Linked DNA regions of Homo sapiens: region 1 is linked to region 2. The links are contacts of gene promoters, found by promoter capture Hi-C in blood cells and fetal thymus (Javierre and others, 2016). All regions are on one chromosome and are shown on one strand. The core of a region is centred on a gene start or on the middle of the fragment in contact, and the rest is flanking DNA. Distances in the headings are between cores, read along the strand shown.

Region 1 (4,886 bases), core at 437-2,936, 310 kb after region 2:
CGTTTTTGAGCCATTGGTGGACGAATTCTGGTTCTTTTCCTGATTTGGGCCCCTGTGGGTCAAAGGTTTTCCCCCCTCAGGGATCCTCTTTTCCTCTTCAGCCTCTCCTCCCCCAAATATTAACTAAGGCAGATGCCACGCCCCTTTCTCTGCACCAAAAAGAAAGGGCCTGGGGCAAGGGTGTCTTTGAAATTAAAAGAGAGAAGATGCAGGAGGAGCCTCTGGTCCCATACTCTACTCTTGTCTCTGCCACACCCACACCAGGGGGCCCCAGACAATTCCAACCCCAGCACTGACCCTCCAAAGATTCAAGGCTGTTTCTCCTTACTTCAGTTCAGTTAGAGCTTCATCCTAAGGACAGACTGAAGAGCAGAAATATAGACTGTCGACGTTAGACAATGAAAGCCTGGTGGATGGATCAGCATCCAGGACAAGGGTCTCAGTAACTGCCTTTTCGTGTTTGCACATCAGAATGTCAAATGATTCTACCTCTCAATTCCTTCAACTCTTCTCACCCCACCCCTCCCACCTCAATCCTCCTCCTGCGCAGGCTCCCCAGGCACTCAATCCCTCCTTCCGCTTTGCCCCGCCCCCGTCCGCCATTTCTCCAGGACACACCGCCACACCCCTTCTCCTGCAACGAAGCGGGAGGGGAGCGGGGCGAGGGTGCAGCAAAAGCTGGATGGGACGCGGTATGGGGGACTCCTGCCAAACAATTCAGTGTTCCCCTCCCAGGATCACCCATCTTTCGCTCCCCAGCCCCTAGGCCTAGCGTTAGCCTGCAGAAGAGGGGCCTCAACGTCTGCCTTTTCGGGTTCAGGGTCGAGATTTTCCACGATTTCTCTGCTATGGGCTCTACCTCCCACTTCCCACAAATCCCCCCAACAACCGCCATTTCTCCCGCCTGCATACCCGAATTCCTTTTCCAGGACTGAAAAGACGGGGGGTGAACGGCTGTGTGGGCCGGAGGTGTCTGGAAAGCAGTCTGCGAGTTAACAAGGCGGTTTAATACCAGATTCTCTCAGGGTCCGCCCCCTCCCCCCCACCTCCCGTGAAGCCCAGACAGCGCCAAACCCGCCACCTCTCCAACAGCAGCTGGTACACCCATTTCCCAGCACTCCCAAATCACAGAGGGTCGGCTGGGGGATGGGAGGGTGCCGGGGCGGTGGTGGGGAAAGTCAGGGTGGGAGTGTGCCGCCCAGATTGTTACCAAATTGCATGCCCCACCCCCGCCTCCTGGTTACCCTTTCCCAACCTCCCTGCTGGCCTTCTATGCGCTGCCACGTTTATTTCTCTTCCCTCCTCCTCTCAAAACAGGACGGAATGTGGGGTGCGGGCCTGAATATTATAAACAAAACCAAAAAACACTGGCTGGAAAGGAAGTAAGCGGATTCTTCGTAAAGTCTATCAAAAGTCTTTTCGTTTCCCCCTCCCCCTTTCCCCACCGCCCACCAAAATGAGCCGCGTTTGAGCACCTCAGGTCTGGAAAGCCGGCCAGGAGTGGGGGAGACCGAGGCACCCGCGGCCTCCGACTCCCGCATCCCTAGATTACCCCTATTCAGGGGTCCCAGACTGTGCCCACCCTCACACCCACCTGCCCGAATCTGGGGGAATTTTCTCCTCCTCCTCCTCGCCTGGGTTAAACGCACGGCAGCGAGCTGCGCAATAGAGTTGGTACCCAGAGGAGGACGGAGAACGACGGTCAGGGCTTTAAGTACCTTTGCCCACGTCAGCTCCTGGTCACGTGAGGGCTGCATCGCCAGTAAGCTTGGGTCCCCAATTTCCACTCCCACCAAGAGTACGAGCCCCCTCCTTTACTTCCATTCCCATCTCACCCCACCACATCAGGTCCTGTCACTCATTTTTTTGTCTTTGTAGTCCTGGAGGCCTAAAGTAGCCCCTTCTCCCTGCTTTCACAATTTGCCTTTCTCTGGTTACCTGGGAGGGGCTGCATCTTCTCGGAGGGCTACTGAAAATTTTTACTTTTTTGTTGGGGAATTGTTTCATCCTTTCCTGGGCTACTGGACACTCTTCCATCTCTCCACCTCTAGTTCCTCAGCCCCTAGTCCCCAGGATTTTCCTTGCAGTTGACTCCCTGTTCCAGTATAGTTAAGGGGCAGAGTGTCAGAAAGGAGACAAGGAGTGGGAGTGGGGTCTGTACTTCTCAAATACTTCTGTTTTGTTTTCAAAACTATCATCATGCTTTATTTTTATAGTAAGAAAATTCAGTAAAACAAGAATTCAATGTGGGAAGTAGCAACAAAAAAAGGGTGGGCATGTTTTGTAAAGAAAAAAGGTTTCCTGCGTCCATTGGAAAGCACCATTAATTTTGGTTAATTTTTACCGAATAGAACATGAATTCTTTTGGTCACATAGGAAATAGTTTTTAAAATATGCTAAGGTATTTGAACATCTAAAATGGAATATTTCTCAATAAGATAAGCATATTTCCATGTGATCTGTAAATTGATCCACAGAGAGATGTTCAGTTCTTCAATCTTGTTTATTTTGGACAAATAATACGCTACTTTTTTCTCCTTCTGGGACAGCTTTTAAGTTGCATAAATAAATGATCCTGTCTTGTCCTGTTAGAGAAACACATTTATTTAATATTCCCAAACCATTGCTGACTGCTGTGTGTGAACCTCCTGTAATTTGATGGCTGTAACCATGACAGTTTTAAACACCTGTCTTCGGATTAGGTTCCAGTTAATGATTCAACTCTGGGCAAAAGGAAGAGCTGTGAGGCCAAGGAAACTGAGTGTGGTGGGTGCAGAGTGGTCAAATCCTCCCTGCCCTGTCAGGAGGAGGAGGGAGATGCTGTCTCTCTACTCCCTCCCATATGCCAGAGCCGCTCATCTCCTGCATTCAGGTACCTGGCTCAGTTGCTCACACCCAAAATATATCCAGACAAGTGACCAAGATGCAGACCTGGTTAAATGTCTTTGGCTCTTTCCGTCCCTCCCCCAAGTTCCCAGAGGAAACCCATTGATGCATAGAAAGGATTGCTGTTCTTACCTGACCCTGCAGCTGACGATTTGTGAAACCTGTGATTTCACAAAAAGGTTTTTGTGATCACACAAAAAGTGATTGTTGGGGGAAGTTCCCAGGCCTGACTGCTGTCTGTCCTTATTCGTGGTTACCAGTGAACCTTGCTCCAAACACTGTCTGCTACTACCACTTGGCCTAAGAGATGCATCCTCCTGGGCCTCTCACTTCTGCCTCCTTAGCTCCAGGGGACCTAGGAAGAGTCTAGCCTTCCTGCAAGGTTACTGCCTGCCAGTACACATCCACCTTGGTGCCCTCTCAACCAAATGTATGCCCAGGGAACAATCCCCACTGATGAACCCAGAGTAGGTGTTCTCACCCGGTCAACTCTGTAGACCACCTGAAATTGCATTCACCTGCAAAGCTTTGTTTGGGATTATATGTGTGGTTAAATGCATTTTTTTCAGGAACAGAGATCACTGACCTCATCAGTTTCTCAAGGGGTCTGTAACCCCCGCCCTGCAAAAAATTAAGAGCTAATACAATGGCCAAGAGGGTCTGTGTTATATATATATAATAGTCCAGATTAGGAATCTTGTATTTTGTTCTGGTAATACAAGTATTATATATTAGTGGTTAAAAATATTCAAAACAATAAGGAAATATATAAAGTATACAGGGAAAGAAACTTTTGTTATCTTTTCCACTCCCAGCCACTGTCAACAGTTTCCAACTTTCTTTTTAGACACATTAGTAGTGCGTTTGTGCTTATTAATCAAGTTCCAAATTTTTGTGATCTGTTTTATTAATTCTAATTTAAAGTGATACCTTTGGTTTATCTTGGTATTATATATAATCATTTGTAAATGATGATTTTTCATTTCTTCCTTTCCAACATTTATGCCCCCTTTTCTTTCTTCTTCTGCATGAGTCATTCTTGGTTAAATTAGACATAAACGAAAATATCCTTAACCTGATGAAGAATATATCAGAAGTTCTTCTGATCTGGCAGATTCGTCCCTCCCTGTGGTCTACCAAGATCACAGAACTTAATGACTGGCATTGACTAGAACTTCCTTACGAGCCTCCTGATCTTGTTCTTGAAGACAGTGGGAATGCCTCTTTTGTTTCATTATTTAGTATAACTTTTGTTGTTTGTGATTGATGTATTTTTTTTTCAAGGCTAATTTCACTTATGTTTACTAGTCCCTCTCTTTCTCTCTGTCGCACGTGCACACACACACGTAGTACAAAGAAATACTATCAGTGAATGGAGGCAAGTCATTAAGTTCTGTAATCTTGATAGTCCAGAGAAAGGGATGAATCTGCCAGATCAGAAGAGCTCCTGATATCTTCTTCATCAGGTTAAGGATATTTTCTTTTATATCTAATTTAATTCATCTAAGAACGACTCATTAAATTACGTATAATTCTTTACTACATAAATGAAGTTCCCTCTTATTCCTATTTTACTTTTTTTTTAAATTAGGAATGGTTACTTATTTTATCAAATGCTTTCATTATGAGGTTTCTTTTCTTCTTTGGTTTGCTGTTGTCAGGAATGATGTAGACAGGCCAGTCTCCCTGTCACTCTTCTCTTCCTATAGTTTATTCTCAACATATCCAGACACATGTCCCTTGTTCAAACTCCCCACCCACTTACTGTGTTGTTTAGAGGAAATATAAATGTCCTTATTATAACTGACAAGGCCCTACCCTGTTCAATCTTACTACTTTTCTGCCTAATCTACTTCTCTCTCTCTATCTAACTCACCCTACTCAGTCATCTTGGCTTTCTTGATGTTCCTGGAATATACTGGACATGTTCCCTTTACAGAGCCTTTTCAGTTGCTCGTCTCCTTACCTGGGATGTATTTCCATCCCACATCACCACACTT
Region 2 (4,794 bases), core at 270-2,769:
TTTCCTAAGGGGTTCATCATAGCTTACAGTTTTTTTTCCTTTCTTTTCTTTTCTTTTTTTTTTTTGAGACAGAGTCTGGCTCTGTCACCCAGGCTGGAGTGCAGTGGCATGATCTCACTGTAACCTCCGCCAGGTTCAAGCCATTCTCGTGCCTCAGCTTCCTGAGTAGCTGGGATTACAGGCGGGTGCCACCCCGCCCAGCTAATTTTTTCTATTTTTAGTAGAGACAGGGCTTCGCCGTGTTGCCCAGACTGGTCTCGAACTCCTGACCTCAAGTGATCCACCCGCCTCCCAAAGTGCTGGGATTACAGGCATGAGCCACCGCGCCGGGCAGCTTACAGATTCTTGCAATAGTACTTAACCACACGCCCTCCTAGCCCCAAAGTAACGAATCACAGATATTTTTAAAAAAGAATCAAAGCACTCTGGTCCAAGGCAGACCAGAGTTAAGTAAGCATCTGGTAGGTGTCATAGTCCAGCAATACTGTAAGTTTATGGGAAAGGGCCTATGGAAACCAATGACTGTATATAGTTCAAGTTAAGTGGTTCAAAAATTTCGTTCATTATTCTCTGCCATGTACACAAGCCTCAGACCCTCTAATTCCAAGGAAAATTATCCTTGGCCTCTGAATTCTGTGAATTGTGTACATTAAGGGAGATCTGTCCTTGGCAAGCAGAACACGTTGTTGGCAAGCTGCAAATACCTTCCACCCTTTTGCCAAAGTCCCCTCACAGGGCAGGCTCAATTCCTCAACCTTCAGACCCAAAACGGCTTGGTATTACACAACAATCCAACAAGAAAGCAAATAAGTATGTACGTTGGAAGAGATTACACCACTTTTATAGTTACTGGGCTGGAGCCACTCATTTTTCAGCGGAGAGGGTTAGAACTGGGTAATGAAGGTAAATCCCGAGGAGTCCAGGAATAGCAGATTCACTGATTCACTGACTCTCTGGGACTCGGGCTGCCAAAAATAAAATCCCAGTACTGGGGGCTCCGATCAGTCTTGGTGACCAGCACTAGGCAGCTTCAACCTCGGGTGCCTGAAAGTGCTGGGTGTCCAGTGGCATAAGTCTTCTTTGATACCCAGTCCTCTACACCAACAAAGCCGAGGTCCGGAATGACAGTCCCCAGAGAAGCGGAGTCACCCTTCTCCCATCCGGCTAGGCCACAGGAACCTGAGAAAATCAAGGGTTGCTGCCAGGTGCCCGCCCCCCACCCCGAATCCCCGACGTTGTCGCGAGTCCCGCGGTACAAGGACAGAGGGAAAGTAGGTACAGTGTTCAGGTCCCAGCCCCAGGCTCCTCACCCAACAAAGTTCAGTCATCTGGTGCACCAGCTGCTGGAAGCGCTGCTTTTGAGTCTCTACCTCGATGAAATGCTGCAACTGCGGGTCCACTGCACCCAAACCCGCCGCGGAGGAAGAGGAGGAGGAATCCATCCCAGGGCGACCAAGCTTGCAGAGACGAACTCCGCACCGACCTTCACGTGTCTCCGCGACGGAACCGGAACCACAGCTAGCTGCCTCTGGGACCGCCCCCGTGAGTGCACTGCGTCGGCGCGAGGCAGGCGTCCAACTCCACCCCGCCGCCTCCCACACCTTGGCGCCGGTGCTTCGTTCCCGGAGTCGGCGGGTTCCACTCCCCGGACCCCGCAATCCCGTAACCCCGCAACCCTGCCGTTGCGCCCAGCCTTGCGCCTTGAGATCGCAGGGCTTACAGCCCAGAGCCGAGGTGCCGTTGAGATGTTACTCCAAAAAGAAAAGAAAGGAGAAAAGGAAGTTACTTCAGACCACGTGATCCATTCCGTGCTGGCCCCACAGCTCCGCCCCTGTCCACTTCCAAATTAGCCCGCGTTTTCTGAGCTACCAGAGTTGTGCACTGGGTCAGTTAGTTGACTGGGTCGATTAGTTGGCTATCCTGGGCCCCTGGCTTTCGTTTTTTGATGGAGTTTTCCTCTCCCGACGTAGGGAAATGAGGCTATGGCAGTTTGTGCCCAACTTTCAGATTCATTCAAATAACATTGCATGCGTGCTGTGACAGGCACTGTTTTTGCTTAATGCATCTTTGATTCAGAGGCAGGAGTTAACAAGAGGGCTTAAACCTGGAGGATCCTGTCGAGTTCTCAGTGTAGGAATATGCCAAACTAATGCTACACAGCAGCTTTCTGGAATACTGAGATAGGGCGCTTCAGGGAGGCTGCATGATTAATAGAGATACCAAAGACTTTCAAGCTTTCTAGTAATTTTATTTTATCAAAACACCCTCCCCTCCCATCTTTATGACACCATTTCATTCTTGCCAAATTCGGTCCACCCCCACACACACACCCCCAAGCTCTACCAAATGCCTACTCAAAGAGCTGTTGGACCCCTTTGTGCGGCTATTTACATCCTCCCTCCTAAAAAATATTTTCATCGCAAATTCAGTCTGTCTTAATTCTCTCGGGAAATTTCAGGCACAATAATTTCTTGGCCTTTGCTCAGAAGCCACTATCCCAGGGAATCAAAGAAGAGGTGCATTCCCAGATGTAGAGAGGGGCCTTTTTGTATTGAGTGGGAGCACAAAGGCTCCAGGGCTCCTAAGCTTGGGATTTCCTCTGAGAAAGTGAAATTGGGGCTTGTGGAGAAGAGAAGTAGAACCAAGAAGCTTATTGGCGAGCTCAGGATTCTTCATCCATGACATCTAGAATATTGCTCAGAAGAATTTTGAAAGTGGGACGCTCATCTGCTTTCTAAAACCAAAGAAAAAGTAAAGTGTTAGAGTGGCTAGAATCCAGAATTCAAGGGAAATGCAATGAGTAAGCAGCAAATGTTTATTAAATATATGCTCTATGCCCAGTAGCATGCCCTGTCGATTACAAAAGGAAAAAAAAAAAAAAAAGAAATAGCAGCTCTCCATAAAGTCTTTGTGCACTTTTCATCTTTAGTAACTCAGGTTATTAGTGTGATAAGAACAATTTGCAAATTAAACTGACAATCACACTGATCAAAATTGAGGGCAAGTTCATTATGTAACTGTATACAACACATTCTTATTTTGGATCCTCAAGTGAAAAATGGCTACCAAACAAGTTCAAGTGGTTGGCAGAACAGAAATCCCATGTGATAATTTTTAGTGATTAATATTTCAAAACCACAGGCTGTATTACTGAGCAGGGATTCTGAGTACCTGGGACCTTTTTTTTTTTTTTTTTTTTTTTACCACTGGTAACAAAAAGACTAAGGTTTTTTTTTTTTTTTCTTTTTGAGACAGAGTCTCACCCTGTTGTCCAGGCTGGAGTGCAGTGGTGTGAGCTCAGCTCACTGCCACCTCCCAGGTTCAAGCGATTTTCCTGCCTCAGCCTCCCAGGTAGCTGGGATTACAGGTGCACGCCATCACGCCCAGCTAATTTTCGTATTTTTAGTATAGACCGGGTTTCACCATGTTGGTCAGACTAGTCTCGAATTCCTGACCTAAGGTAATTCCCCCGCCTCAGCCTCCCAAAGTGCTGGGATTACAGGCGTGAGCCACCGCGCCCGGCCTACGACTAAGGTTCTTTTTGATGGCCATGGCCCATAAGCCCCCGAGGTATTTGGTATTTAGTGGTTCAGGGAACATTCATGCCAGAATGCTCTCAATCTGTTAGAACCAATGGTCATCAATTTCTTGATTCCTTGACTCAGTGATTCTTAAACTTAGCTGAGTATCAGAATTTCCTGGGAAGTTTAAAAAGAGATTTCTGGGTTCCACTTCAGGCATAGCTAATCAGAATTTCTGGAGAAAAGTCCCAGTTACCTGAATTTTTTTTTGTGACACAGTCTCGCTCTGTCACTCAGGCCAGAGTGCAGTGGCAGGATCTCGGCTCACTGCAACCTCCACCTCCTGGGTTCAAGTCATTCTCCTGCCTCAGCCTCCTGAGTAGCTGAGATTACAGGCACACATCACCACGCCTGGTTAATTTTTGTATTTTTAGTAGAGACAGGGTTTCACCATGTTGGCCAGAATGGTCTAGATCTCCTGACCACGTGATCCGCTTGCCTTGGCCTCCCAAACTGCTGGGATTACAGGCATGAGCCACCATGCCCAGCCAGTAATCTGCATTTTTAAGAGCTCCTTAGGGTTTCTGATATGCATCCAATTTTGACCACTCCTTTAAACAGGCTGTGGATAAAGTACCTGTCTGAAATCATTTTTAATTAGCAGAGTAAGAAGGTCCTGATTGGGAGGGAGCATAGCCAATCACCCTTAATCCTGCATCACACAGAAGAAAGAAGGAGTCCTCCCTTTCTGCACTTTCTCTGTGATCTGTCATTTGTTCGAGGGAAACCAGCCATGCTCGGATCCAGATACCCACTTTTCACCTCACCAAGAAGGCTCCAGATTCACATATGCACTTGTTGGACACTCTGAAGAGTTGAGCATTTATTTCCTACTAGAAATTTAGGTTGCCAAGGATCTACTGAAAAGTAGAGAAGGCATCTTGGGAAGAACTCGAGGTAAGAGGAGCAAAGCAGTTTAATAGTAGTAGGACAGATTTCCTTATTTCCAAAATACCACACCTACCCACATACCCCACGATGCACCATATTAAAAAGCAAAACAAAACAAAGCAAACAAAAAACCCACTACCTGTTTTAGTTCCCTTTCAAGCAGTAGGTTTTAAAAAAAATCTCATTTAGCCGGGCGCTGTGGCTCATGCCTGTAATCCCAGCACTTTGGGAGGCAGAGGCGGGTGGATCACAAGGTCAGGAGATCGAGACCATCTTGGCTAACACGGTGAAACCCTGTCTCTACTAAAAATACAAAAAATTA

What was found. Contacts are between HindIII fragments. The CHiCAGO score rates a contact against its expected background, and 5 or more counts as called.
Region 1: a contact is called between the fragment with the promoter of ARMCX2 here and the fragment with the promoter of TIMM8A in region 2, in 4 of 17 cell types (activated CD4 T cells, total CD8 T cells, monocytes and 1 more). The highest score is 5.7, in activated CD4 T cells.

Annotation. Positions count from the first base shown.
Region 1 is chrX:101,658,164-101,663,049 of GRCh38, forward strand. It overlaps ARMCX2 (armadillo repeat containing X-linked 2), which reads right to left and starts at 1,687. Exons shown (of 6, transcript NM_177949.4): 1 at 1,595-1,687; 2 at 1,256-1,338; 3 at 913-985; 4 at 298-362. The HindIII fragment of the contact is 4,840 bases long and covers 1-1,765 here.
Region 2 is chrX:101,347,223-101,352,016 of GRCh38, forward strand. It overlaps TIMM8A (translocase of inner mitochondrial membrane 8A), which reads right to left and starts at 1,520. Exons shown (of 2, transcript NM_004085.4): 1 at 1,311-1,520. The coding sequence starts at 1,442. BTK (Bruton tyrosine kinase) reads right to left here. Exons shown (of 19, transcript NM_000061.3): 19 at 2,228-2,734. The coding sequence ends at 2,663. RefSeq lists an enhancer at 1,442-1,491. The HindIII fragment of the contact is 777 bases long and covers 1,456-2,232 here.